Linked DNA regions of Homo sapiens: region 2 is linked to region 1. Evidence: promoter capture Hi-C in 16 types of primary human blood cells and fetal thymus (Javierre and others, 2016). All regions are on one chromosome and are shown on one strand. Each heading gives the region's core, a stretch centred on a gene start or on the middle of the fragment in contact. The rest is flanking DNA. Distances are from core to core; before and after follow the strand shown.

Evidence for each region. The method cuts DNA at HindIII sites, captures the fragments that hold promoters and counts their contacts. A CHiCAGO score of 5 or more calls a contact.
Region 2: the fragment with the promoter of KIAA1143 here is called in contact with the fragment with the promoter of ZNF852 in region 1 in 1 of 17 cell types (neutrophils); the score reaches 5.3 in neutrophils.

What each region holds. Positions count from the first base shown.
Region 1 is chr3:44,507,080-44,513,756 of GRCh38, reverse strand. It overlaps ZNF852 (zinc finger protein 852), which reads left to right and starts at 3,140. Exons shown (of 4, transcript NM_001423469.1): 1 at 3,140-3,204. RefSeq lists enhancers at 2,686-2,745, 2,204-2,980, 2,981-3,757 and silencers at 2,966-3,015, 3,146-3,205, 3,216-3,375. The HindIII fragment of the contact is 19,774 bases long and covers 1-6,677 here.
Region 2 is chr3:44,758,260-44,764,936 of GRCh38, reverse strand. KIAA1143 reads left to right here and starts at 3,318. Exons shown (of 3, transcript NM_020696.4): 1 at 3,318-3,442. The coding sequence starts at 3,335. It overlaps KIF15 (kinesin family member 15), which reads right to left and starts at 3,143. Exons shown (of 35, transcript NM_020242.3): 1 at 3,053-3,143. The coding sequence starts at 3,071. RefSeq lists enhancers at 3,093-3,372, 4,163-4,805. The HindIII fragment of the contact is 21,704 bases long and covers 1-6,677 here.

The DNA.
Region 1 (6,677 bases), core at 1,891-4,390:
TCCTGAATCGTTCATATGGTCCAGCAACTAAAGGGTTAATTGGGTGATTGGGGGAGGGGCTAAAGGAGCTGTTTTTCCACCTTGTCTCCTTCTACCTATGAGGAGGGGCTGCAGGAAGGGAAAGAAATTGACCTCCTCAACGACTTCCTTCCAGTTCACAGACAGAACTGTTTCAGTTCTGTTACCTAGGTCTCTTTTCTTCTCAGGGATGATATTTAAAAGATTAACAACCAGTGGCTGGGCGCCATGGCTCACTCCTGTAATCCCAGCACTTTGGGAGTCCTAGGCAGGTGGATCACCTGAGGTCAAGAGTTCAAGACCAGCCTGGGCAACATGGCAAAACCCCATCTCTACCAAAAAAAAAAAAAAAAAACTTATCCGGGTGTGGTGGTGTGCGCCTGTAGTCCCAGCTACTCAGGAGGCTGAGGTGGGATGATGGCCTGAGCCCAGCAGGTGGAGGTTGCAGTGAGCTGAGATCCTACCACTCACTGCACTCCTGCCTGGGCGATAGAGCCAGACTTTGTCTCAAAAATAAATAAATAAGCCGGGCACAGTGGCTCATCTTGTAATCCCAGCACTTCGGGAGGCAGAGGCAGGCGGATCACCTGAGGTCAGGAGTTCAACACAAGCCTGGTCAAGATGGTGAAACCCCATCTCTACTAAAAATACAAAAATTAGCCAGGCATGGTGGCACATGCCTGTAATCCCTGCTACTCAGGAGGCTGAGGCAGGAGAATCGCTTGAACCCGGGAGGCGGAGGCTGCAGTGAGCCAAGATCGCGCCACTGCACTACAGCCTGGGTGACAGAGTGAGACTCCATCTCAAAATAAATAAATAAATAAATAATTATAAATAAGGCTGGGCGCTGTGGCTCACACCTGTAATCCTAGCACTTGTGGGAGGCCGAGGTGGGCAGATCACCTGAGGTCAGGAGTTCGAGATCAGCCTGGCAGACATGACAAATCCTGGCTCTACTAAAAATGCAAAAATTAGCTGGGGATGGTGGCCTGTGTCTGTGGTCCCAATTACTGGGTGGCTGAGGCAGGAGAATCACTTGAACCCAGGAGGGGAGGCGGAGGTTGCAGTGAGCCGAGATCACACCACTGCCCTCCAGCCTGGGTGACAGAGGGAGGCTCCGTCTCAAAATAAATAAATAAATAAATGAAGGAATTCCTAATGCTAAATGCCACATAATCAAACTGAAATTTTATAGAAGTATGTGAATCCCCTAACAGACCAGTTTTTCCTGCAAACAGGAGATTCATAGCAACCATTCAGAAAGGGCCCAGTTAACCCCAGTCAGCATAAGGAAGGCCCCCTCTGCTTTAATCCTTAAAAGAAAAGTAACCTGATGTTAATCAATCTATTTTTGCTATTGTTTGGTTCTCTTGTTCCCACCTTTAAAAACCCACTGTTCTGCCACATGCTGTTAGTCTACTTTATAGAAGTTTTTACTATTTTGTACCTGCTTCTCCAACTCATAATGTTACACAGCCTCTCCAGGTTGTAGCCCAAGAAGCAGCCTGCTCTTTCTCGTTCTCTCTCTTTCTTCCTTCTCTCTTTCATTCCTTTTCTCTCTTTCTCACTTCCCTCCCTCCCTTCCTCCCTTCCTTCCTTGGGTCTCGCTCTGTCGCCCAAGCTGGAGTACACTGCCCCAATCATAGCTCACTGCAGCCTCGACCTCCCCGGCCCAAGCGATCCTTCCGCCTCTGCCTCCACAGTAGCTAGGACTACAGGCGTGCACCACCAAGCTCAGCTAATGCTCTTTCTGGTCTGAGTTTTGACCCTCATCCTAACCTGTTGTTCTTTGAGTACACTCTGGGCCTTGATGCGTTGGGTCATTCCTGCTTTCCCAGGTGGTAACCGTTCCTGGGCAGGGATTTTAGTTTTCCTTGGAATCTTGCCCTCCTCACTATCCTGCCCACAACCTTCTACCCCTAGCTTCTGGGATCTCAGCTAGGAGCCATGCTATCCCCAACTCTCCCTCTACAGGGACGTGGGACGGGAGAGCTTTTATGAAGCACAGTAGTGAAAAGACCAAAAGATTTGGATTCAGTGGCTATTCCAGTTACTGACTCTATTTCCTTGGGCAACTCAAATCAATGCATGGCAGCCAGTGTGTTATGAGCTACCGGAAGTATACAGAAAAGTACCAGAAAAAATACAAGCATTATCATCAGTCGCTGTCAATTAAATAACTCTGTTACATTTCAACAGTGTTCGTAACCACTTGACATTGATGTATTTGTGTAATTTCTATTATCTGTTTTTCCCACAAAGCTGTAGCTCCATCCAAAGTGGGCAACTGAGTGTCTTGGTCAGTCATGTGCAGCCTGATGACCCTTGAACAGTTGCAAAAGTGCGCCTAGGGCTTGTAGCATTTACTTAAAAGGGGATAATAAACTCTCACGGCCAGTGCTGGGCTTATTGCCTTGTTTGGGAATTTCTCCATTCAAGGGTTTTATGTTTGGGGATGTGCTGGCCCTATTTTTTTGTTTGTTTGTTTTTTGAGACGGAGTCTGGCTCTGTCTCCCAGGCTGGAGTGCAGTGGCACGATCTCGGCTCACTGCAACCTCCGCCTCCCAGGTTCAAACGATTCTCCTGCCTCAGCCGCCGAAGTAGCTGCGATTACAGGCGCCGCGCCACCACACCCAGCTACTTTTTTTTTATTTTTAGTAGACACGGGGTTTCACCGTGTTAGCCACCGATCTCCTGACCTCGTGATCCGCCCACCTCGGCTTCCCAAAGTTCTGGGATTACAGGCGTGAGCCACCGCGCCAGGCCGCTGGCTCTATTTTCACCGCTAGCTTTGGATCCCTTTCTTCCCTGAAGGAAAAGAGGCCTCCAGGGCAGCCGTGCAGAACCGATGGGAGGGATGTAGGATAATACGCCAAAGCCGATAGAGTTCTGGAGCGCGCCTGGGCATCAGAGCGTGGAAGACAAGTGTCCGCGGAAGGAGGCGAAGGATGCTGGACAAGCCCCGCCGCCCGCCGCCCGCCGCCCGCCGCCCGCCGCCCGCCGCCCGCCGCCAGCGGCCCTGGGCCCAGGGAGAAGCAGAGATGTTGGCCCTCCCAGTTTCCTAGAGAGGCCGCAGAGGGCCCGGGGAGGCGACGCGCGTGCGCAACTGGGGAAGCTGGGAGGTAGGCGCGGGGCGGTCGGCTGCGGTGGCGGCGTTTGGATGATTGTCTCTCGGCGGCGGAGTCGGTGAGCGGCCCGGCGGGGCGCGGGGTGCGGAGCGGGGGCGGCTGTGCGTGCGAGAGTGGCAGGTGAGGCCGGGCCTGGAGGCTGCACCCGGGGCGGGGGTCTGGCCGTGGATCCCGCCCGGCCGCGCCGAGGGCATACCTCTTCGCCCCCCGGGCGTCTGGGGCAGAGAATCTGGAAAATTCCCGGTTTCTTCTGGCTTTATCTTTTCACCCAATTATGCGAATAAAGCGTACTTATTAGAGACAATTAGATAAGTGGAAGAAAAGTGAAAGTAGCCACCGTCCGGAAATCTTAGTCTCCAGGTCTCCTGACATTGAAAACATCTGGCATAGACTTCTCCCTTTTTCTTGTCTTATTTCACTTCCTGGCACCTGTCGCCGTCTAACATAGCATGTATTTGTTTATTGGTTATCTTCCCATAAGCCCCTTGCCAGGGCAGTGCTTTCTGTTTGCTTTATTAACTGCTGTTACCTTAGTGTATGGGAAATAGTAGGTGCTCCTAGAAGGTGTTTGTTAAATTAATGAAAGAAGGAATATCTAAACTGGGAGACAAGAAGAATTGACAGTTTTTAATGTCTTTTTTTTTTTTTTAAATAGCCCATTGCCAAGTTAAGAATGTAAGAGTGACCTTGAGCCTGGAACATTTCCTTGCAGAGTTAGAGCCCTCACAGCCTGTGCTGCTGCATTTAATGCCTTGTGTCTTTCAGTGTTTCAGGCTTCATGTGTACTCCTTTGTTGTGTTTAATCTCTTAAGTCAGTGGCCTTCATTCATTCTCTCAGCCTTCTGTATTTCACACCCCATAGGAGTGGGGAGGGTGGATTGAGATCTTTCTTCCTTACTAAGTGGGGTGTGTGCATCACACCAGCCCTATAGCTGTGGAGTGGATCTGCTGGGTGTGGGGGCTCTTTGCATTGCAGGAGGCTGGATCTTGTTCCCTGTTTCTCCTTTTGCTGTAAGTATACGCTGTACCTCTTGGGGCCTGATGTGGTTGGTATCTGTCCTCAGCGACCTCAAATCATGTGCTATCCCTTCCTTGGATGGCCTTTTAATCTTGGCAGCACAGCCTGGCCACCTGGTGAATAGTGGAACAGTCATGGTGATGCATAAGGATCTAGTATGTTCCTTTTAGGTGCTGTATGGTATTTCATCCTATAAAAATGCTACTTTTATTTAGCCATATTGATGGACAAGTAGGTTAAATCCAGTATTATGTTATTACAGAGAATATTTTAGTAAATACCTGTGTAAATGTCTGAATACCCGTGCAAGTGTTTTTCAGGGCAGATTCTTACAAGTTAAATTCCTGTAGCGTAAGGAATATGTCTTTTTAGTTTTACTGTGGACTTTCAAACTATCCTTCCTGTTGGCTATTACATTTCCACATCTATTAGTGGTTTGTGTTTGGTGTTTTTTTCTTTTGCTTTTCTTTTGGACAGAGATTTTTTTCATATTGATGTATTCAAATATATTCACTCTTTTCATTTTGTTGTCTTAAGAAATTCTTGGTTACACCAGGGTTCTTAGAGTCTTTATGGTTTTTTTCTTTTTTTTTTTTGAGACAGAGTCTCACTCTGTGTCACCCAGGCTGGAGTGCAGTGGCACAATCTTGGATCACTGCAGCCTCTGCCTCCTGGGTTCAAGCAATTCTCTGCCTCAGCCTCCCGAGTATCTGAGATTACAGGCGCCTGCCACCACATCTGGCTTTTTTTTTTTTTAAAGTAGAGATGGGATTTCACCATCTTGGTTAGGTTGGTCTTGAACTCCTGACCTTGTGATCCACCCACCTTGGCCTCCCAAAGAGCTGGGATTACAGGCGTGAGCCACCGCACCCAGCCTTTTAGCTTTGTTTTTTAAGTTTCTTTATTTTTTGTGTGATTTTACTTACTATTTTTATTTGCCTAGCCAATTGTCCCAACACAATTCATTGACTAGTTTAATTTTTCCCACTGACTTGTAATGCTACTGTTACCAACTCTCAAGGGAAGTCGTTTGACTTCAGTGGGTCCTTTACCTGCCTGGTGGTGTTCATGCCAATAAAATGAGACCAAGTTTCGTTAAGCAGTGCAGAAACTTTATTTGTTGATGAAGGAATGGAGAAGGAAAAGCTCATGCTCAAAGTACCCTCCTCTGGGTGTGGTGAAGAGGGATTTTTAAGGTCTCTTAGGGCATGTAGTGGGGCAGAGATCCTGGAAAGAGGTGGGGCCCTATGGGAAGAACTGGAGTGTGCTCAGTCTCATTCTTTTTTCTTTCTTTCTTTCTTTTTTTTTCTTTTGCGATGGAGTTTTGCTCTTGTTGCCCAGGCTGGAGTGCAATGGCTTGATCTTGGCTCACCGCAACCTCCGCCTCCCAGGTTCAAGCAGTTCTCCTGTCTCAGCCCCCCAAATAGCTGGGATTACAGGCATGTACCACATGCCTGGCTAATTTAGTATTTTTAATAGAGACGGGGTTTCTCCATGTTGGTCAGGAGGGTCTTGAACTCCTGACCTCAGGTGATCCACCCGCCTTGGCCTCCCAAAGTGCTGGGATTACAGACGTGAGCCACCGCGCCTGGCCAGTCTCATTGTTTCTTTTGTACCCAGCACTATATGTGCCTAGCAAGTGTATTTCTCCCTTCTAGGTGGAGATTTTAATATGGTAATGAAGCAAGGATTCAGGCCTGGGTAGCACTGCTGAGCTAAGTTCTCCTTTGTGGTTACTGATATTTAGCCTTTTTCTCTCTAAGCAAGCACAGCTGCTGGCACAGGTTAATTTTACAGGTTCTGGGGCTCTTTTTAAAAGAAGGTCTTGCTGCTATAAGTAGACAGAGAGGGCCTCCAGGGATCATAGGAATTTAATCAACTTGAGCAGTCAGCCAGTTTTACAGCCTTCTGCCCTGCAGCCTGTTTCTTCCTAAACCCTGTGTGGATTGCAGTCACCTAGTTAGTTAAAACCAGCCCCAGGCCGGGCGTGGTGGCTCACACCTGTAATCCCAGCACTTTGGGAGGCTGAGGCGGGTGGATCACAAGGTCAGGAGATTGAGACCATCCTTGCTAACACGGTGAAACCCTGTCTCTACTAAAAATACAAAAAAATTAGCCGGGCGTGGTGGCAGGCGCCTGTAGTCTCAGCTACTCAGGAGGCTGAGGCAGGAGAATAGTGTGAACCTGGGAGGCAGAGCTTGCAGTGAGCCGAGATTGCGCCACTGCACTCCAGCCTGGGCGACAGAGTGAGACTCTCTCTCAAAAAAACAAAAACAAAAACAAAAAAAAACCCCAGCTCCTGACAGACCCCAGCAACTTATAGATGAACCTGAGTGAACTTTTCTCATTACCATGCTAAAGTCTCCACCCGGGGAGTAGCTATAGCTTCATTACCATAACACATGACTTATGTGCTGGCATAATGACTCACTGCGTCTGTACCACTGGGACCCCTCCTATACATGGGATGATGTAGCCTCTCGCCTCTCCATTGCTCCATAAAATTCTCCTAT
Region 2 (6,677 bases), core at 2,069-4,568, 250 kb before region 1:
GGCTGGGTGCAGTGGCTCACACCTGTGATCCCAACACTTTGGGAGACCAAGGTGGGTGGATCATTTGAGGTCAGGAGTTTGAGACCAGCCTTGCCAATATGGTGAAACCCTGCCTCTACTAAAAATATAAAAAATAGCCAGGCTTGGTGGTGGTTGCCTGTAGTCCCAGCTACTCAGGAGGCTGAGGCAGGAGTAATCACTTGAACAGAGATGGAGGTTGCAGTGAGCCAAGATCGCACCCCTGCACTTCAGCCTGGGTGACAGAGCAAGACTCTGTCTCAAAAAAGAAAAGAAAAAAATGAAGTCTATAGGCATTCACTGTAAAATTCTTTCAACTTTGAGGTCCTCTATGTGTCCATCTAAAAATATGCTTAAGTCTATTCTCAGTAGCTTTATTCATAACAGCCCTAACTATAATAAAAACCCAAATGTCAATCAACAGGAGAATAAACAAATCATGGTATACTCACATAATGGAACACTACACAGCAATGAAAAAGAACTGCTGCTACATACAATGATGGACAATGATCACAGACATAATGTTCAGTTGAAGAAACCAGAATAAAAAAAGAATACATACTGTACCATTTATATTAAGTTCAAGAATAGAAGCAAAACTAATCAGTGATAATAATAATCAGAGTAATGGTTGGGGATCAGGTAGTTATTGACTAGGAAGGGTCACAGGGAACTTTCTGGAGTACAGGAACAGTTCTATTTCTTGATCTGGATGGTGGTTACATTAGTGTATTTATATGTAAAAATTTGTTGAATAATATTAAGATTTGTGCCCTTAACTGCATGAAGCTATACCTCAACAAAACAGTAAGTCTTTTAAAGAGTCTTCCTGCTTTAAAACAGACCATTGGATGCTTTACTCTGCAGTCTAGATAAATACTCATCAGTCATTTGCCCAAACATGATTGGGTTCAGAAAGGGAATCTTAGGCCAGGTGCAGTGGCTCACGCCTGTAATCCTAGCACTTTGGGAGGCCAAGGCAGGTGGATTGCTTGAGTTCAGGAGTTCAAGACCAGCCTGGGCAACATGGTGAAACCCTGTCTCTACTAAAATACAAAAAATTAGCAGGGCATGGTGGTGCACGCCTGTAGTCCCAGCTACTTGGGAGGCTGAGGCACGAGTACTGCTTGAACCCAGGAGGTGGAGATTGCAGTGAGCCAAGATTGCGTCACTGCACTCCAGCCAGCCTGGGTGACAGAGCAACACTGTCTTTAAAAAAAAAAAGGGGGGAATCGTATATTTCACTTTTTCATTTCTCTGATTTCACAGTCAGCAACTCATGGTGTCAATGATGTCACTAGAGATAGCCTTCATGGGGCCGGGTGTGGTGGCTCATGCCTGTAATCCCAGCACTTTGGGAGGCCAAGGTGGGCAAATCACGAGGTCAGGAGATCGAGACCATCCTGGCCAACACAGTGAAACCCCGGCTTTACTAAAAATAAAAAAATTAGCTGGGCATGGTGGCGCGTGCCTGTAATCCCAGCTACTTGGGAGACTCAGGCAGGAGAATCTCTTGAACCCGGGAGGCGGAGGTTGCAGTGAGCCAATATCGCACCACTGCACTCCAGCCCGGCAATAGAGCAAGACTCTGTCTCAAAAATAAAAAAGAGAGAGAGAGATAGCCTTCGGGGCACAAAGTAAAAGTTGCAAAGACCACTGCACGGGCTCTCTTCTCCCATGTGTTCCCACTTCATGCTCCAGGCCTCTGGGCTGCTGGGAATGCAAGAAGCACTTTAACTGGGAAGTCATCAACCTCAATTTTGCCAACAAACTTAAAGGAGTGGAAAAGTTCCCCATGGCATCACCACCATCATAAAGGAGAGTGCTCCCACCACTTTAGAAAGGTTCTCAAATTTGGTTTTCAGACAAGAGCCCTCAGTCACATACATATATCTCATTAAATAAGCAGATGTTTTACTTATTTAACAGGCATCAAATTTTTTGCTTGAGTCCAGATTTAGTGACTGATCCATAAAGTGGAAACAAAGAACAAACAGTATGATTGTTCAGAAAGCAGGATGAACATTTCTCTCCAATAAGGTACCATTTTGTGAGCTCATAGTCCTTGAATACTGAAAATGATGAAAGGAAAAGGAATATTTTATATGCAAAAAGGTAGCATAAGGAGGTGTTCCGATTAGGTGTGATCGACCTAAAAGATTAATGAAACAACAAACCCATCAAAAACGACTACAATTGACAGAAAGCTAGAAACATTAACGGCGTTGGAAAGCTCAAATGACAGAAGTTCACAAATTCTTAATCATCTAATCCAGGCCTCTCCTCATTACCATTCAGACCACTCACAAAGATCCCATTAAATCAGCTCATAATCAGGTTTACAAAAATAAGACTCCTTAAGAGATGTGGCAATGTGAGAAGTGGAGCACGTACACAGGCACAGCAAATGACTACGTTAGTGAAAACTGTAGGGTTTATCATAAGCAAAATGACAGTGCTCTCCTCCGTGAAAAAGAGAAAGAAATCGGACGGGTCTCCTTTAAGTGAAAATAGAGACTGTGAGAACATAAAGACATTGCTGACATCTGTGTTTTAACATTCCATTTATTTAAGGAAAGAGGAGAAAGAAATGTTTGGAATATAAATAAACCCTTCCCTATAGGAAGGTCAGAAATGTAGAAATACGCAGAAGCTGGTGGGAGCAAAAGCCGATCCTGAGACAAGGATATCTAGAGAGGTAGCCCTGGTCGGGATGTGGGAAGAGGCCTGCGAAGAAACAGCAGAACCAAGGGAAAGAAAGGGAAGAACGTCAGGTCCACTGCTCATCCCGAGCGCCTAGAACTGCGCCAGACTCCTGGCATGCGCACAGGACACTGAAGGAAGGGATGAGCTTTTCGGCTAGCGTATTGTCTTTGAGCGACAGAGCGGGATTCCCAAACGTCCCCGCCGGTCACTCAGCTCCTGCAGTTCATGCCTAGCAAGAACCTTGCGGGCGGTCCGAGGCTGCCATCCTTTCACAGCTGTATTTGGGGGCAAAAATAGGGTAACGAAGCCGGGGGCCCAGACTTACTTTTGCAGCCGGGTGCCATAGCGCCCTCACCCCTCGATCCCGAAAACAATGCAGCCGGTGCCTCCACCTCCCGACTGCACCGCGCGCGACTGAATTCCGCCCGCTCAAGATGGCCGCAAATTTGAATTTGGCGCTTGGATCGGACGTTGACGCCCGCATGGAGGCCGCCATGTTGCCCGGCCTACGCATCGGGGGCGTGGCCCAGTGACGTCACAGCTAAGCGCCTCTGTATCGTCGCGAATCCGTCGCGGAACCTGTCTTCTGTCTTTACCCAGAGCTACCATGAGCAAGCGGAACCAGGTATCGTACGTGCGGCCAGCCGAGCCGGCGTTTCTGGCCCGCTTCAAGGAACGGGTCGGCTACAGGGAGGGACCCACCGTAGAGACTAAGGTGAGCCTTCGCCAGTCGTGTTTCTTCGGAAGCGCAGCCAGCCCGCCACTTTCAACTTTTGCCTCTACTTGGAGGGTGGGTGCTGTCGGGTCCCTCTTTTCACCCGCGCTCGAACCCAATTCCGGTGGAACTCGGACCCCCAGGCTGGTTCTTTTCAAGCGACCACAGCCCCCTACGCCCAGGAAGCTCTGTAGTTTTCAGAGCGCTGCTGTGTTCCTGAAAATGAACTGACGTGTAAACCACCTGGTCCTTGGTAGATGGTAAAGAAAGATCACTTTATTGTCTCTTCTTTCTCACTTGTTTACCTCAAAAGCTGTGAGTTCGCAGGGTGAGTTAGAGTTACAGCGTCGTCCCGTATTCCAGATAAGGACACAGGCCACTCGATCAAATGACCCCCGCCCCAACCATGTCCTAGGACTCGAGTCTGGAACGTCTTCGGAGGAATGTCCTGAATCTGTTTCTATGCTTTGTTAATTAAAAATAAATAAAAATAATATAGAGAAGGTCGGGCACAGTGGCTCACGCCTGTAATCCCAGTACTTTGGGAGGCCTAGGTGGGCGGATCACCTGAGGTCAGGAGTTCGAGACCAGCAGAGCCAATAGCCAATATGGTGAAACCCCCCGTCTCTGCTAAAAATACAAAAATTAGCCGGGCATGGTGGCACATGCCTGTAGTCCCAGCTACTCCGGAGGCTGAGACAGAATCGCTCGAACCCGGGAGGTGGACGTTGCAGTGAGTTGAGATGGCGCAGCTGCACTCCAGCCTGGACAACAGAGCGAGACTCCGTCTCAAAAAAAAAAAAAAAAAGCCGGGCCTGGTGGCTCACGCCTGTAATCCCAGCGCTCTGGGAGGCTGAGGCGGCAGATCACGAGGTCAGGAGATCGAGACCATCCTGGCTAAAACAGTGAAACCGCGTCTCTACTAAAAATACAAAAAATTAGCCAGGCATGGTGGCGGGCGCCTGTAGTCCCAGCTACTCGGGAGGCTGAGGCAGGAGAATGGCGTGAACCCAGGAGGAGGAGCTTGCAGTGAGCCGAGATCGCGCCACTGCACTCCAGACTGGGCGACAGAGCGAGACTCCGTCTCAAAAAAAAGAAAAAAAAGAAGAGTAAGCAGAAGCCGTAAATATCCTGGGTCTAAATAGAAGAAGAGGAGCTTCAGGAAAGAGCCACACCTGACTATTGTTGTCTAGGGCCGGAGGGATCAGTATTGAACACATGAATGACAAGAAAGCAAAACAGCTACATTGCTGATACAGAGAAAGTTTTAGTGGTCTGGATAGAAGAGCAAACCAGCCACAACATTCCCTTTAACCAAAGCCTAATCTAGAGCAAGGCCCTAACTCTTAAATCCTGTGAAGTCTGAGACATGTGAGAAAGCTGCAGAAGAAAAGTGTGAAGCTAACAGAGGTTGGTTCATGAGGTTTAAGGAAAGAAGCCATCTCCATAACATAAAAGTATGAGATGAAGAAGCAAATTATTCAGATCTAGCTAAGATAGTTGATGAAGGTGGCTACACTAAACAGGTTTTCAATGTAGATGAAACAGCCTTCTATTGGAAGAAGATGCCATCTAGGACTTTTTTTTTTTTTTTTTTTTTGAGATAGGGTCTCACTCTGTCGCCCAGGCTAGAGTGCAGTGGTGCAATCACAGCTCACTGCAGCCTTGACCTCCTGGGCTCAAGTGATCCTCCTGCCTCAGCCTCTCAAGCAGCTGGGACTACAGGCATGAACTAACGCATCTGGCTAATTTTTGTATTTTTTTGTAGAGACAGGATTCCACTGTGTTGCCAAGGCTGGTCTCAAACTCCTGGACTCAAGCAATCCTCCCACTTTAGCCTCTCAAAGCCTCTCAAAAACCACTATGCCTGGGCCATTTAGGACTTTCATAGCTAGAGAGAAGTCAGTGCCTGGCTTCATATTTTCAAAGGACAGGCTAACTCTCTCATTAGGAGCTAATGCAGCTGGTGACTTTTAAGTTGAAGCTAATACTTACCATTCCAAAAATCCTAGGGTCCGTAAGAATTATGCTAAATCTACTCTGCCTGTGCTCTAGAAATGGAAAAACAAAACCTTGATGACAGCACATCTCTTTATAATATGGTTTACTGAATTATTTTTAGCCCACTGTTGAGACCTACTGCTCAGAAAAAAAAAGATTCTTTCAATATATTATTGCTCATGGACAATACACTTGGTCACCCAAGAACTCTGATGGAGATCTACAAGGAGATTAACGTGGGGTTTTCATGCCTGCTAACACAACATCCATTCTGCAGCCCATGGATCAAGGAGTAATTTCTATTTTCAGTCTTATTATTTAAGAAATAACAGCCAGGCGCAATGGCTCACACTTGTAATCCCAGCACTTTGGGAAGTCAAGGCAGGTGGATTGCTTGAGCCCAGGAGTTCAAGACCAGCCTGGCCAACATGGTGAGACCCCATCTCTACAAAAAATACAAAATTTAGCCCAGTGTGGTGGCATGCACCTGTGGTCCCAGCTACTTGGGAGGCTGAGGTGGGAGGATTCCCTGACCCCAGGTAGGTTGAGGCTGCAGTCAGCCATGATTGCACCACTGCACTCGAGCCTGGGTAACAGAGCCAGACCCTGTCTCAAAAAAAAAAAAAAAAGTCAAAACCATTTGTAAGGCTACAGCTGCCATGGATAGTGATTCCTCTGATGCATCTGGATATTGTAAATTGAAAACTTTATGGAAAGGCTTCACCATTCTAAACACGTTAAGAACATCCATGATTCATGGGAAGAGGGCAAAATATCAACATTAACAGGAATTTGGAAGAGGTTGATTCCAACCTTCATGGATGACTTCGAGAGATTCAGGCCTTCAGTGGAGGAAGTAATTGCAGGTGTGGTAGAACAAGCAAAAGAACTAGAATTAGAAGTAGAGCCTGAAAATGTGACTAAGTTGTTGCAGTCTCATAAAAATTGAACAGATGAGTTGCTTCTTATTGATGAGCAAAAAAAGTGGTTTATTGAGATGGAATCTACTTCTGGTGAAGATGCTGTGAACATTGTTGAAATGTCAATAAAGGATTTAGAATAAACTTACTTGGTAAAGCAGCAGCAGGTTTAAGAGGACTGATTCCAATTTTGAAAGGAGTTCAGCTGTGGGTAAAATGCTATGAAACAGCATTGCAGCATCACAAAAGAGAAATCTTTTGTGAAAGGAAGACTCAATGCAGCAAACTTCATCGTCTTATTTTTAAAAATTGCC